Linked DNA regions of Homo sapiens: all the other regions are linked to region 1. The links are contacts of gene promoters, found by promoter capture Hi-C in human tissues and cell types (Jung and others, 2019). All regions are on one chromosome and are shown on one strand. Each heading gives the region's core, a stretch centred on a gene start or on the middle of the fragment in contact. The rest is flanking DNA. Distances are from core to core; before and after follow the strand shown. Region 1 holds the start of GPR85 (G protein-coupled receptor 85). Region 2 overlaps IFRD1 (interferon related developmental regulator 1). Region 3 has its middle 61 kb from the start of LINC03076.

Region 1 (4,208 bases), core at 1,016-3,515:
ATGTACTTTTTATAAGAACCAAATTAAGCAAATTATATCAGTTTTCCTAATACACTGATCAATATAGTACATGTAATATTCCAACAGTTTGTAAATCTTCAGAACCCTTCAAACCCAAGGATTAGAGCATATAGTTTTGTTGTATTTGCTTTGTTCTTTTACTCTTAACCTGAAAATCAAATTTTCTGGGTTTGGTGATGTAGGGGATAAAAAAAAAAGAAATTAGTTAAGACCAACTAAGCCTATGATCTAAACAATTTGAAGCAATAACTTTACATTTGAGAACTTGTAGATGATATGAAACTTTTGTCAGCTATTAAACATATTTTTTAAAGCCCTGCTGATGAAAGATGTAGCTTCCAATGTTTTCTCCAGTAGAGTTAATGAGCTAGATAGAAAATATCTCATTAATTTCTTGAGTCCCCTTGTGAGGCAAGAAAATGACATTCTTATCCAACAGCTGGAAAAGCTGAAGAATTAGTGGATGTAACTGTGCTCAACTGCAAAGGAAAAAAATAGCTTTACTATACCCTGAGATGTGGATATGAAAGAATATTGCATACACATATACCCTCTCCCTTATTTTTAAGGAATCAATATCTGCTTAAAGAATAAGACTAGTTAAAACCCTTGGATCTTGGCCCTATAACTTTTGGCAGAGTATATTACTGCTTCATGGCCTGGCAGTGCAGTGACTCTTTTAATTTACTTTAAAATAGCTTTTCCCTAATCTGTACAACCTAACATCTGACCAATCATGAATCTTCAGCAAACTTAAGCCTCTTATTCCATACATTTTTTAAAACTGTAAAAATTCAGGAAATAACTCTTTGCAAAGTACATTGAAGCATTTATTGGGAAGCAAAAAAGCACAAGTTGAAGTGATTTGTAGTTTCATAAAAACGAATTTGACATTTTACTTAGAAGTTGCAAACCACCACATGGTTTTGAGTTTTGAATTCATTTGCTTTGCAAAAAGTGGAATGTTTTATTTGAATGGAAATGCCCTCAAGTTACTTCCAGCATGGCTGTAGGATTGATTTTTCTAGGTTAAGGGAATGCCAAAGTTTAGTGCCTTGTGTATATTCTTTTCGAAAAAAACAAACTATTATCCATGTATTTAAATGGACGTAGGAAATTCAAGAACAAATCAGGGAAATTTAACATCATTTCAGTATTACCAACATAGGGCTTTGTGTAACGACTGTGACATCAAGATAAGGCTTTACCTCGGCTCATCCAATAGAAATACAGTATGTAAATTAACCCATATTATCTGTATGCTGATTGGCCTGAGTTCCCCTGAATGTCACAATCTCACCACCCAGCAATGAGGTATTTTACTGCTGTCTCAAGATCAGATTATTACTGTAGAGAAGATTTTTATTTTTTGTTTCATTAACAGATTATTATAAAGCAAAAAGCATGCAGAAAAAGAAGCAGACGTTTTACATTGGGAATTAATGAAAGCGTGTCTGCTAGTTTTGGGTAGGAGAACTGGGAAGTTGTTGCTTAAAATTTTATATCACCTCCACAAACAAAACTCTTCGGAAATGGTAAAATAAGAAAATGCATGATTCTAGAGGCATTCCTAAGCACCCACGTGTCAGGCTTTGTGGTGTCTGTGGTATCATCCGACCGTTTGGACTGGTGTAAGTTTTACGTATTTGTTATATTTCTAGTATTTTTCATCTGTAATAACAAAGGGGAAAAAAGGAAACTCGTACACATAACTGCTTTGACATCACCCATCATTGGTCAGCGGAACTTGTAAGAAGGGAAAAGGAATACTGTTGCTTGGTGGGGTGGAATGCCAGGAATAGCCATTTAAACATTTTATAAGCCTGATTCTTTAGTGACATCCTTTAAGGTAGACTGAATGTAAATCATATTGTAGTTGTCCTCTGAACTTAGCTTTCTCCCTACTTTTACGCATATTTGCGTGCATTGGAGAATAGAAGATGACTAACAAAGAGAGAGCTGCCCTAACGTGCCTTCCCTTCTTCCCCATTGAAAAGATTTTTAACTGTGGGAAAAAGATAAATAAATAAATAAATAACTTTTTTTCTTTTTTCCCATTCTTTTCTTGTCTTTTTCCAGCTAACCTGCAAATTTAAAGGTTAGCTGGAGACATCACTTAAAAATAAATATATAAAAGAAGCCTCCGGTGGTTTGGACCACCCTAAAAGAAAAGGGAAGAAAGTGTCTGGGGAAGGTTAGGGTTCCGGGAAGCTGAGGGAGGGGGCGGGCGTCACGGGCACTGTGACTTCCTCGTGCGCTGCCTTTGGGAAGAGGATGGGCCTGAGGTCCTGAAAGGGCCTTTCCAGCCCCCCACTACAAATGCGGGGAGGGAAAAGTTCAGAAGCAGCCACGAAGGGACAAAAGCTTAATGCTGCCAGTTGGATTGGACAGGGCAGTCAATAAACCCAGCCAGCTCTGGAGTCAGGTAGGGGTTCCTGCTGGTTCCACAGAGGCTGAAGCAGCCCCGCCGCCGCCCTCGCCACCGCAGCCGCCGCCGCCGCGGCCCCTGCGTTACTGGGGGAGACGGTGCCGCTGCGACAGGGGAGGACGCGGCTGGAGCTCAAGGAGGCTCCAGCGCGCAGGCGCCGCCGAGCCCTGCCTGGATGCTCAGTCAAGGCACTAAGGCAAAAAAAAAAAAAAAAAAAACAAAAAACAAAAAAAAAAAAAAAAAAAAGAAAAAGAAAAAAAGAAAAAAATCAGCAATTTATAGAAAGAAGCTATAGTCTGTCGGGATATCCAACACCAACAGGTAGGAGGATATACTCTTGGTTAAGTTTGGGGGATGTGGGGGAATGCACAGTGTTGATGAAACTGCAGGTTCACCGAGAAAGAGCCCTCCCTCAGGTTGTGTGTGTGTGTGTGTGTGTGTGTGTCTCTGTGTGTGTGTGTGTGTGTGTGTGTGTATGTGTTTTGTGACAATAAACTGCATAATGGAAGTACATTCAGACAATGCATCTTCAGTAGGGCTTACTGAGAGCTCCATTTCTGGAAAGCCTTACAAGACTGAGGAATATCAGACTGCGAATCACCGGGAACGGTTCCTTTGCAGCACAGAAGCAATCTCTCTCCCCATCTTCGCGTATGTAATGCATGTCTCTCTCCCTCTCCCCCTCCTCCACCCTCCCCCCATTATAAATCCAGGGGTGGCGGATTTCAGGTTTCGTAATGTTGCATGATGCGATCGGTATTTACCCGAGGATGTACCGGTGGGGAAATTAAAATCATCGAACGCAGTTTTGCCTGGGCTTCCACCAGCATATTCCGGGCCAGTGAGAAGTGGCAAAAGAAACACGCTTGGTGGGAATAACAGAGGAAGCCGATTTCCCTGGTGTGGTCCAGGCACCTGCGAGACAATGTGCATTTTGTTTTAAAAAGCAGCCACTTGTGATTTGCAACAAAGGTTATCAGTGTAAATGGGAAAGGCTTAATTGCCCAAGAAATACAGGTTCATGTTATATTCATTTGAATCCAGGCAGCCAAGGTTTACAAATGGAAGTGCATTATTCCTCTGGGTGTGTTTCCCTGTCCAATATTTACATTAACCATTTTAATAATCATGTGGGCTTAAAAGATTTGCCAGAAATGGGGGGTAGGGTGGAGAGGGAAAGACAAATGATTAAATCACATCAAATCTTGGGACAAGTAAGTTCCTATTAATTTTGAAGTTAATTTTGAAATTTTGCTTTAAGATGAATCAACAAATACTCTTATGCAGCATGAATAGTGGCACTTAAGATATATTTTGCACGGGTTCTTTGGACCCACATCAAACAGAGAAGCTGCCTGTGAAACACTGACAGATACTAATAGATCTCAAATAAATGTAGGTAGTGTCTCTGCCTCCTAATAGCAATCTTGTAGATTCCATTGCAATTCTAGTGGTTAATTCCTGGACTGGCATATTTTACAAGAATGGGACATTTTATTCCTTCTCTCCTAAAGTTACCCTATCAAATGTATATTGTCCAAAATAGGGACATTTTAAAATTCACTTAGCTTGAAAAACTAAACAAGCCAATTCTCTGAAATCTCGAGCAAAAATATTTAGTAAAGCAAATATTAGTATTCAAAATTAAAACTTTATTTGCTTCCCCATAAGTGAACAGCTTTGTTAGCACTGTCTGACATCATTGCTTGTTAACTTAAGAACTGATAGGTTTTTTTTTTTTTTTTTTTCAGATATTCTG
Region 2 (4,208 bases), core at 1,709-4,208, 620 kb after region 1:
AAACAGCTTCCAAAAGCCTATTAATAGGACTTTACGATAATTATATAATAGAGCTGTACCACTCTGGGACAAATAAGAAATGAGCTCCCAGAGAAATAAATATCTTAATATACTCTTATAATAATAAAAAAAACCAGCAGTCATTACTACACAACAGGGTCAAAAGTCCTAGATCAGAATCATCAATCTACTGCTCTCCATACCAAGTTTTATAAATTATAAATCTATTTTATCATCTGAAAAAAAAGAAAATACCCAACCTTTCAAACAATGGTTGTAAGCATTAAAAAGACAATAAATTCCCCAATAAATTCTGAAGCATTAACTATTTTATCAATATTCTAGACTTGGAGGTATATAGAACTCACCTTTTTAAAAAAAATCTGTGTAGCCATCACAACCATACGAGGCAGTTTAATACCATATTTAAGACATAGGTTTTGCAGTCAGAACATCTAGGTTTGAATCACAAGCATCCACCATGTAGATCTATACAACCTCAGGCAGCACTACATTAGCAATCTGTCTCAGGCTCCTCTTATATAACAGTTATTACCACCCACATCTCCTAGGTTTTTTATAGGGAAATGAACTATTAGAAATATATAAAACACAGGACATAAACATCCATTAAGTTATAGATCTTACTGTTATGAACAGCCTGTTTGAACCTAACACAATATAAATACAACAGAATCTAACACAATATAAATACAACAAACTGGTCAGCTGAAGATAATTATTTCATAGCAAAATAACAGTTACCAATTAAATGGTTTCAAAAGTTGAATGGAATTAGGATGAAATGAAACCAAAGAAAATTTCCAGAAAAGTTTAGGCAGACAGGGTGAGATGCTTAAGGTCACAAAAGCTAACCATTCCCCAAGCTATTATTTCTATACAGAAGTCACTGGAACACTCATTATAAACAAAATAAGCTGGGTCTTGGATAGCTAAGTATTAAGAAATAAAAATCATACAAAAGCCTAATATTAAAATAAAACTTGAGGCCAGACACAGTGGCTCTGTATCTATAATCCCAACACTTTGGAAGGAGGAGGGAGGATTGCTTGAGGCCAGAACTCTGAGGCTGCAGTGAGGTATGATCTTGCCACTGCACTCCAGCCTGGGCAACAGAGTGAGACCCTGTCTTTAAAAAGACTTATTTATTTCAATTCCTGCTAATCAAGGCAGAATATCTTTGTCAAGGTATGGAGATATTTTTACACAGAGTCAGTTATTATACAAACAAGGGCAAAAAAACAAGAAGAATGCTAAGTTGCTGCTTCTGAAGTATAAAATCTAGGTGATTTCAGATTTGGCTCCAAGGAGTATATTTGGTCTTTGATTATCTTTTTTCTCGCTGTGCTGTAGCACTTCCCCTGTCCGCTCAGCTGGGGAATGGAATGGGTGAGACCTGGAAAAGGTCTAACTATATTTTGTTAAATTTTCCCAAGTGAGGATTGCACCAGCAATGGCTCCCAAGATCTTAATTCTGCCCACCAAATAATGTCTCTTATATTAAGTTACTCTACAGTTCCTAAAAGGCCACTAGTAGACTACTGCCAAATGCAATACTCAATTCAACCAACATTCCAAGTAACAGCTAACACTTACACTGTACCTATCATGTGTTCTCAAAAACTCTATGAGGTTGTGACTAATAATTTATCCATTTTAATGATAAGGACACCGAGGCATAGAGAAGTTGCCCAATATTATCCAACTAGTAAGAGAGAAAGAGATCCGAAGGTAGGCAGAACAGCTCCAGAGTCTACTATTATCTAATTGGTTATATGGCAAACATCCATTAACCTAGAACTCTCATAAAGGAGTAATAATTACTAATTTCAACTTTGAACACAGTTTATTATTATTATTTAACCAACTCATTCATTAAAATCCAACCTAAAAGTTAGCTCTTCAAAAGTTTTTTTTCTAAGTCTCTCAGGCAGAATTCATGACATCACTAGATTTCAAAGTTAGTAACATCAGAAAGTCAGTTAGCAAAAAGCCTTGAATAATTCAAAACTCATTTGCTGTATGAACCCTATTTTAAATCTGTCTATGTATTTCACTAACGCCCTGGATTTAATTTTTGAACACCCTATAACTATCCCCCAACCAGCACCCACATATAAAAAGCTTATTTTAAAAAAAAAAAAAAAAAGCAAATAAAAACACTAGGTTCTGTTTTGTAACCCAGTTCATTTTTGTCCTTGGATAAAAATTCAAGTCAAATGAAATATGTCTGGATGAGTTCTCCTGGTTATCCTGTGTAATTTATTAAGTTGGAGAAAAGATACGTGGGGTGTGTGTGTGTGTGTGTGTGTGTGTGTGTGTGTGTGTGTGTATATAAATGTGTATATATATGTATATGTATATACATGTATGTATGTGTCTATATATATGTTTATACAAACTTAAACAAATTCAACATGTATAATTTAAACTGCATTATGACTTCATTTTAAAAATGCATTTCCAAGGAAAAAAAAGAAAAGAAACTGCCATTTCTGGCCAGTAGAGGAATGTAAGATTAAAAATTGGGACATCTGGTTTCCATGCGTTGAGGTTAAGAAGCTATTAACTAGCTCAATAAAATTAAATTGATTGCTAAATTTGAGTCCAATTTCTCACATAAGGAGAATTATTAGCTACTGACAACATTAACTTACTTTCCATTCCTACCTACTATCCCTCAAACAAAAGGAGTGTAGGGGAGTTGGAGAGAGCCACTTTACACATAAAAATTTTAAGACTGTAAACTTCCTTCAATACAGGCCTAGAATGGAATATGAATGACTATACATGGCAGAACTGTATTAATCCTGTTTGGAACCGTTCACTGTTAAATAACTTCTTTAAATGCAAAAAAGTTTCAGAATGAAAATATATTCTTTCTCCTTAAATTAAAAAGCATCTAGTAAGTAATTCAAGGTTGGCAATAATATCTACTATTTAGTTACCCATTTCCCATATATTTGAGTTTTCTTATTGGATCCTTCACAGATTCAGTGTGAAGACAGTCAAACCTGCTCCTCATTTCTAAATATCAGCACAGTATCTGAATCACATATCTTAAGAATACATTCTCCCTTCCAATGGTAAGATTTGAGGCATTCCTTTCTCTTAGCAATCCTTAAAATAGAGATGACAAATTAGGGTTACCAAATGACCCAGTTTGCCCGAGATAAAGGATTTCCTGGAACATAAGATGGTAAGTGCTAAACCAAAAACAGGTACAAAGCAAATTGGGTCGACTGATCAAACTATCACAAACTCAAATCCCTTCGAGAGCCAAGCCATGGTAACTAACATCTGTGAGTGGACAAGTGAATGGGTAACTGCAAAGCACATGTCCCAGTCTTAATGAGCAGTGTTTATTTCCATCTTTGGCTTAGAGAAGTTACTGAACCCATCTCATCCCAAACCTATGCTGACTTAATATTTTATTCATTTGTTTGATATTAATTATGAAGCATCACATGCCTTCATTAGCTTGATGTATTGGGTATCTGAGAAATTCAAGCAGTTTCATAAAGATTATATTAGACAAAACTCTCTCCATGAGGATCCCTAAACTTCAGTTCTATAGATAGCAAAAATTAAGTATAATGAACCACAGTCAAACACTGCTGTACCAACCCCTACTGGTTTCTGCTCTCTAAAGTATTACACCACCACTGCCAAGAAGTAGGGAAATAAATCACTGGGTTCTCAAGCTGGCCATGTTCCAAAGTTATTGCCCAATTCTCAATTGCAAGGTAATGATGGAACAATGGGCCTTGTGACACAAGCTTTTTCCTCTGCCAGTTAGATACTTACACTCTCTATTCCTCTGGCCAATTCAAAGAGAAGTGCCAAAGATTCACCAGCAGCTATTCTCATGTTTACATCATCACAAGAGAGGAGGCTTGGAAGCTTATGGAAATGCCTAAAAAATAGTTAGTCATTACTATGTGAATACAACCAATTATGTCCACTAAATGTTGCTTTTATAAAATATGAAACTAAAAATACATACATCTCAAGCTTTTTCTTCACTTCATTGATTGGGCATATGGTCAGCAGTAGTGTCCATGCAAGAAGAGAGCTGATATGAAGCACTGTATTAGGAGTGCTGCAAATAACAGTAGTGTCTTTCTCTTTGAGATAGGATTTAGTGAAGATATTTTCCAAACATTCCAGAGTTGAGTATAGTTCCT
Region 3 (4,208 bases), core at 695-3,194, 530 kb after region 1:
AAGACAGACGTGGTTTCCACTGTGCTATTTGAAATTGTGAGCTCCTTGTAGTAATAACACCCTAAAAGTACTATGATGTGAGCATCTGATCAAAAAGCAGAGAAATAGATTCATGGGTTCGCCTTGTTAATTACATATGGATACTCAAAAGACATCCACAATACCAGACTAGAAATCATTCATAGTGTGTAAAAGTAACATTCCAGGAGTGTACCAACCCGTTAGCTATTTTGTATATTACTTCTCCAGGACAGTCACCGCTATCATGGCTTTATTGTAAAAGGATACCGAATTCTAAAGGACTCTGGATTTAGAAGCTGCCTTTACACAGCTGGAGATAGCCTCAGTCTCCTGGTGTTTAAGCAAACCCAGTGAATTTTAAAAATTAATCTCATTTTATAATTCATCAACCAGCCACCAATTAAACAAACATATACCGAGTGCCTGTTATTGTCAGGAACTGTGTGAGATGCTGGGTTTACAGTGATAAATGTGATATAACTCCAGCTCTCAGGAACTCAGGATCTGGCAAGAATGCCCTAATGACATAGTCATGTGGTACAGCCATCTTGGAAGGCTAGCACAAGTAATTTGCTATTGATAAGAAAGTACTAAAGTTGGTGAAATGTTTACTTTTTAAAATTTGTTATAAAAAACAGATTATTATCCTTATAACTTTGTAGTCATTTACTGTCATTGTGATATACATTATTTAGCAGGAATAAAAGGGCTAGAGTTACAAATCATAAACTACAAATAATCCACACACTATCTTGTCTTTGCTACAGCTCACCATCTGGGTAAATCAATGGGGGTGTGTCAGCAAATAAAAATTATCTATAACATGTCCAAGTAGGAAAAAGTTGACAAGCATGAGTCCAGAGGCCAATGGGAGAGGGAGACACACAGATAAGCAATAATTACAAGATAGACTGTTAAGTGCTATAATAAGCACTTGGTATATGCATAGGAAGCTGTCAGCATGCAGAGTATCTAATATAGTCTTAGGGGTAAAAGAGAAAACTATGCAGATAGGAGAGGGTGGGGTTAGGGTCAGAGGAAACCATACGAGATATAGCTAATATGGGATAAGACTGATCAAGGTGGGCAGAAACAGGAGCTGAATTGGGACAGCTTAGGCAGAGCACCGGCTGGGGACCTGGGTCTCATACATCTTAAAGCAAAACAGAATTTGGAGTTTGAGCTCTCAAGTTAAACTGGAGAAACCTGGCAAAGCTCACAGTCCAGTACACAGGCTGCAGTCAACTTCCAGAGGTACAAGGACAGCGGGGGCCAGTCAGGCTGCACAGCACAGGCAAAAGCATGGTGGCATGGGTCAGAGGTCAATATTTGGGCTCAGCATTTGGAGAAATAATCTGGAAAGAGAGTCTCTGCAACCATGAGAACACGCAGGACCACAGAGCAGCAGGGGCAGGGTATAAGTGTGAGGCCAAGATAGGCCTGTCTGACCTGTGCTCTTGCAATAAGCTCTGATTTGGGTATGGTATGTGGAAGATAAGGGCTAGCAAGTGTGTGCAGCTCCAGAATCAAGCAAGTAGAAGATGTAGAATAAAAATAATACAGTGGGCAGGTGCGGGTGGCTCATGCCTGTAATCCCAGCACTTTGGGAGGCTGAGGCAGGCAGATCACGAGGTCAGAAGATCGAGACCATCCTGGCTAACACGGTGAAACCCCGTATCTACTAAAGATACAAAAAAAAAAAAAATAGCCAGGCGTGGTGGCGGGCACCTGTAGTCCCAGCTACTTGGGAGGCTGAGGCAGGAGAATGGCATGAACCCAGGAGGTGGAGCTTGCAGTGAGCCAAGATTGCACCACTGCACTCCAGCCTGGGGGACAGAGCGAGATCCTGTCTCAAAAAATAATAATAATAATAATAATAATAATAATAATAATAATAATAATAATACAGCAATATCCCCGCCACTGAAAAGCTGCCTAATAAAGGAGAAAGAAACAGGTAAGCAAACAAGCTCTAGAGATGCTGTGACAGAGCTTGTACAGGTGTAGAAGAGTGCAAAAGAGGAAGTGGTTGATTCAGCCTGGCAAGAAAGCCTTCATGACACATTCATGTGGTTGCATAAAGTTTTGAAATGTAGGTGACTAGTGACTAGACTTGGAAGATGAGTAGGTGTTTGCTTGGCAGACCTCAGAAGAAAAGGGCCACTGGGAAAGACATTCTGACCAAAGGAAGCTGCAGCATGAGCAGGAGTCAGTTGCACACATGGAGCAGTCTGGAGCATCAGGGACAGTGTCTTAGTTCATTTGTGTTGCTATAGAAGAGTACCTGAGGCTGGGTTATTACAAAGAAAAGAAGTATATTTGGCTTACAGTTCTGCAGGCTGCAAAAGAAGCATGGCACCAGTATCTGCTCCTGGTAAGGCCTCAGGAAGCTTCCAATCATGGCAGAAGACAAAGTGGGAGCAGATTTGTCACATGGCAAGAAAGGAGGAGGAGAAGGAGAGGGACAGAGATTGAGAGAGGGAAGGAAAGTGCTATGTTCTTTTTAACAATCAGATCTCATGGGAACTAACAGAGCAAGAGCTCACTCATTACCTCAATGATGGCACCAACCCATTCATAAGGGATCCACCCTCATGATCCAAACACCTCCCACCAGTCCTCACCTCTAACAATGGTGATCAAATTTCAACATAAGATTTGGAGGACACAAATATTCAAACTCTATCAGTTAGCGTGTGGACAAAACATTGAGTCAGGATGGACTTCATAATTTGTGGAGTACAGTGCGGAGAGATTTTTGAGCCTGAGACTCTGCACAGAGGGCAGAGTGGAGTGGGACTAGTTTAGATTTTATTGTGTAAGTCACTAAAGTTATTTTAAATTTTCATTTAACAGCTTTATTGAGATATAATTCACATACCTATGATTCACCCATTTAAAGTGTACAATTCATTGATTTTTAGTTTATTTACACATATGTGGAACCATCACCAGTCCATTTTAGGTTTTCATCATGTCAAAAAGAAATCTCACAGCCTATGTCTTCCACTAGCCCTAAACAACCACTAGCCTACTTTGTCTCTATAGATTTATCTGTTCTGGACATTTGTTCTGTGTGGGAAATGCACGAGGGGAGAAGAAAAGACACAAAAACAATATGTTTAGGGGTAAACAACCTTTATCCCATGTAAATGGCAATGCAGATATAATAAGCAAATGATATAATAAGCAAATTGCAATGGGAAGGGGAGAAGGAAAAAGATATATATATATTTACACTAAATATATGTATTATATATATATTTACACTCATCAGACTATGGAGGATTCACCACCAGACTGGGAAGCAACAGCCTGGGCTCCAGAGTTGGCCTCCCGTCCGTGCACAGACAAGGAGAGGTCTCATGAAGCTTCGGTGCAGTCTGGGACCCTAACTCTTTTTGTAACTAGTTGTTTGGCATGAGGCCCAGCCATGAGGGCCCTTCACGACTGGGCTCAAGGAACAAAAAAGGTCAACTTGTTTTTGTGATTGTCTATTGTTTTTTCAGTAACTAACATATAGGAATAGATTGAAATAGAGATTTTTCCAAAACAGCACAGGATGAATGCCTCAAGGGGCTCACACAACCTATTCTGGGACTTGGTGACCACTGTTTGTGTCCACATTCAATTGAGTTCAAATTTAATATTTAACTTTTCCTCCACAACATTTCATAGGAATGGAATCAAATAATATGTGGTTTTTTGTGACTGGGTTCTTTTACTTAGCATAACGATTTCAAGGTTCATCCATGTTGTAGTACGCATATTTCATTTTTATGCCCAAGTAATATTCTATTTTTTGGATATAGCACATTTTGTTTATCCATTTGTCTATTGATGGACACTTACGTTGTTTCCATGTTTTGACTATTATGATGAATGCTACCATAAATATGTGTGTACCAACTTATTTGTGGACAGACTTTGTAACTTCTGGGTATCTACCTGGGGTTGGAGCTGCTAGGTCATATGGTAACCCTACATTTAATCATTTGAGGAACTGCCAGACTGTTTTCCAAAGTGAATGCACCAATTTACATTCCTGCCAGCAGTGTGTAAGAGTTCCAATTTTTCAGAACTTCACCAACTCTTGTTATTATCAGACTTTTTTTATTCTAGCCACCCTAGTGGTTGTCAAGTGCTATCACTAAAGGTTTTTGAGCCAATAATAAATGCAAATTTAG

What was found. The method cuts DNA at HindIII sites, captures the fragments that hold promoters and counts their contacts. A contact is called where the count stands out against the background at its distance.
Region 2: a contact is called between a fragment that was not itself captured here and the fragment with the promoter of GPR85 in region 1, in 1 of the 25 tissues and cell types used here (hippocampus).
Region 3: a contact is called between a fragment that was not itself captured here and the fragment with the promoter of GPR85 in region 1, in 1 of the 25 tissues and cell types used here (spleen).

What each region holds. Positions count from the first base shown.
Region 1 is chr7:113,084,884-113,089,091 of GRCh38, reverse strand. GPR85 (G protein-coupled receptor 85) reads left to right here and starts at 2,265. Exons shown (of 3, transcript NM_001146267.2): 1 at 2,265-2,770; 2 at 2,983-3,100; 3 at 4,201-4,208. RefSeq lists a silencer at 2,520-2,579. The HindIII fragment of the contact is 9,773 bases long and covers 1-4,208 here.
Region 2 is chr7:112,461,999-112,466,206 of GRCh38, reverse strand. It overlaps IFRD1 (interferon related developmental regulator 1), which reads right to left. Exons shown (of 12, transcript NM_001550.4): 7 at 4,028-4,206; 8 at 3,829-3,937. Among named protein-coding and RNA genes, the nearest start is that of IFRD1, 14 kb to the right of the region's middle. The HindIII fragment of the contact is 4,639 bases long and covers 639-4,208 here.
Region 3 is chr7:112,554,745-112,558,952 of GRCh38, reverse strand. No RefSeq gene overlaps it. Among named protein-coding and RNA genes, the nearest start is that of LINC03076, 61 kb to the left of the region's middle. The HindIII fragment of the contact is 4,517 bases long and covers 1-4,202 here.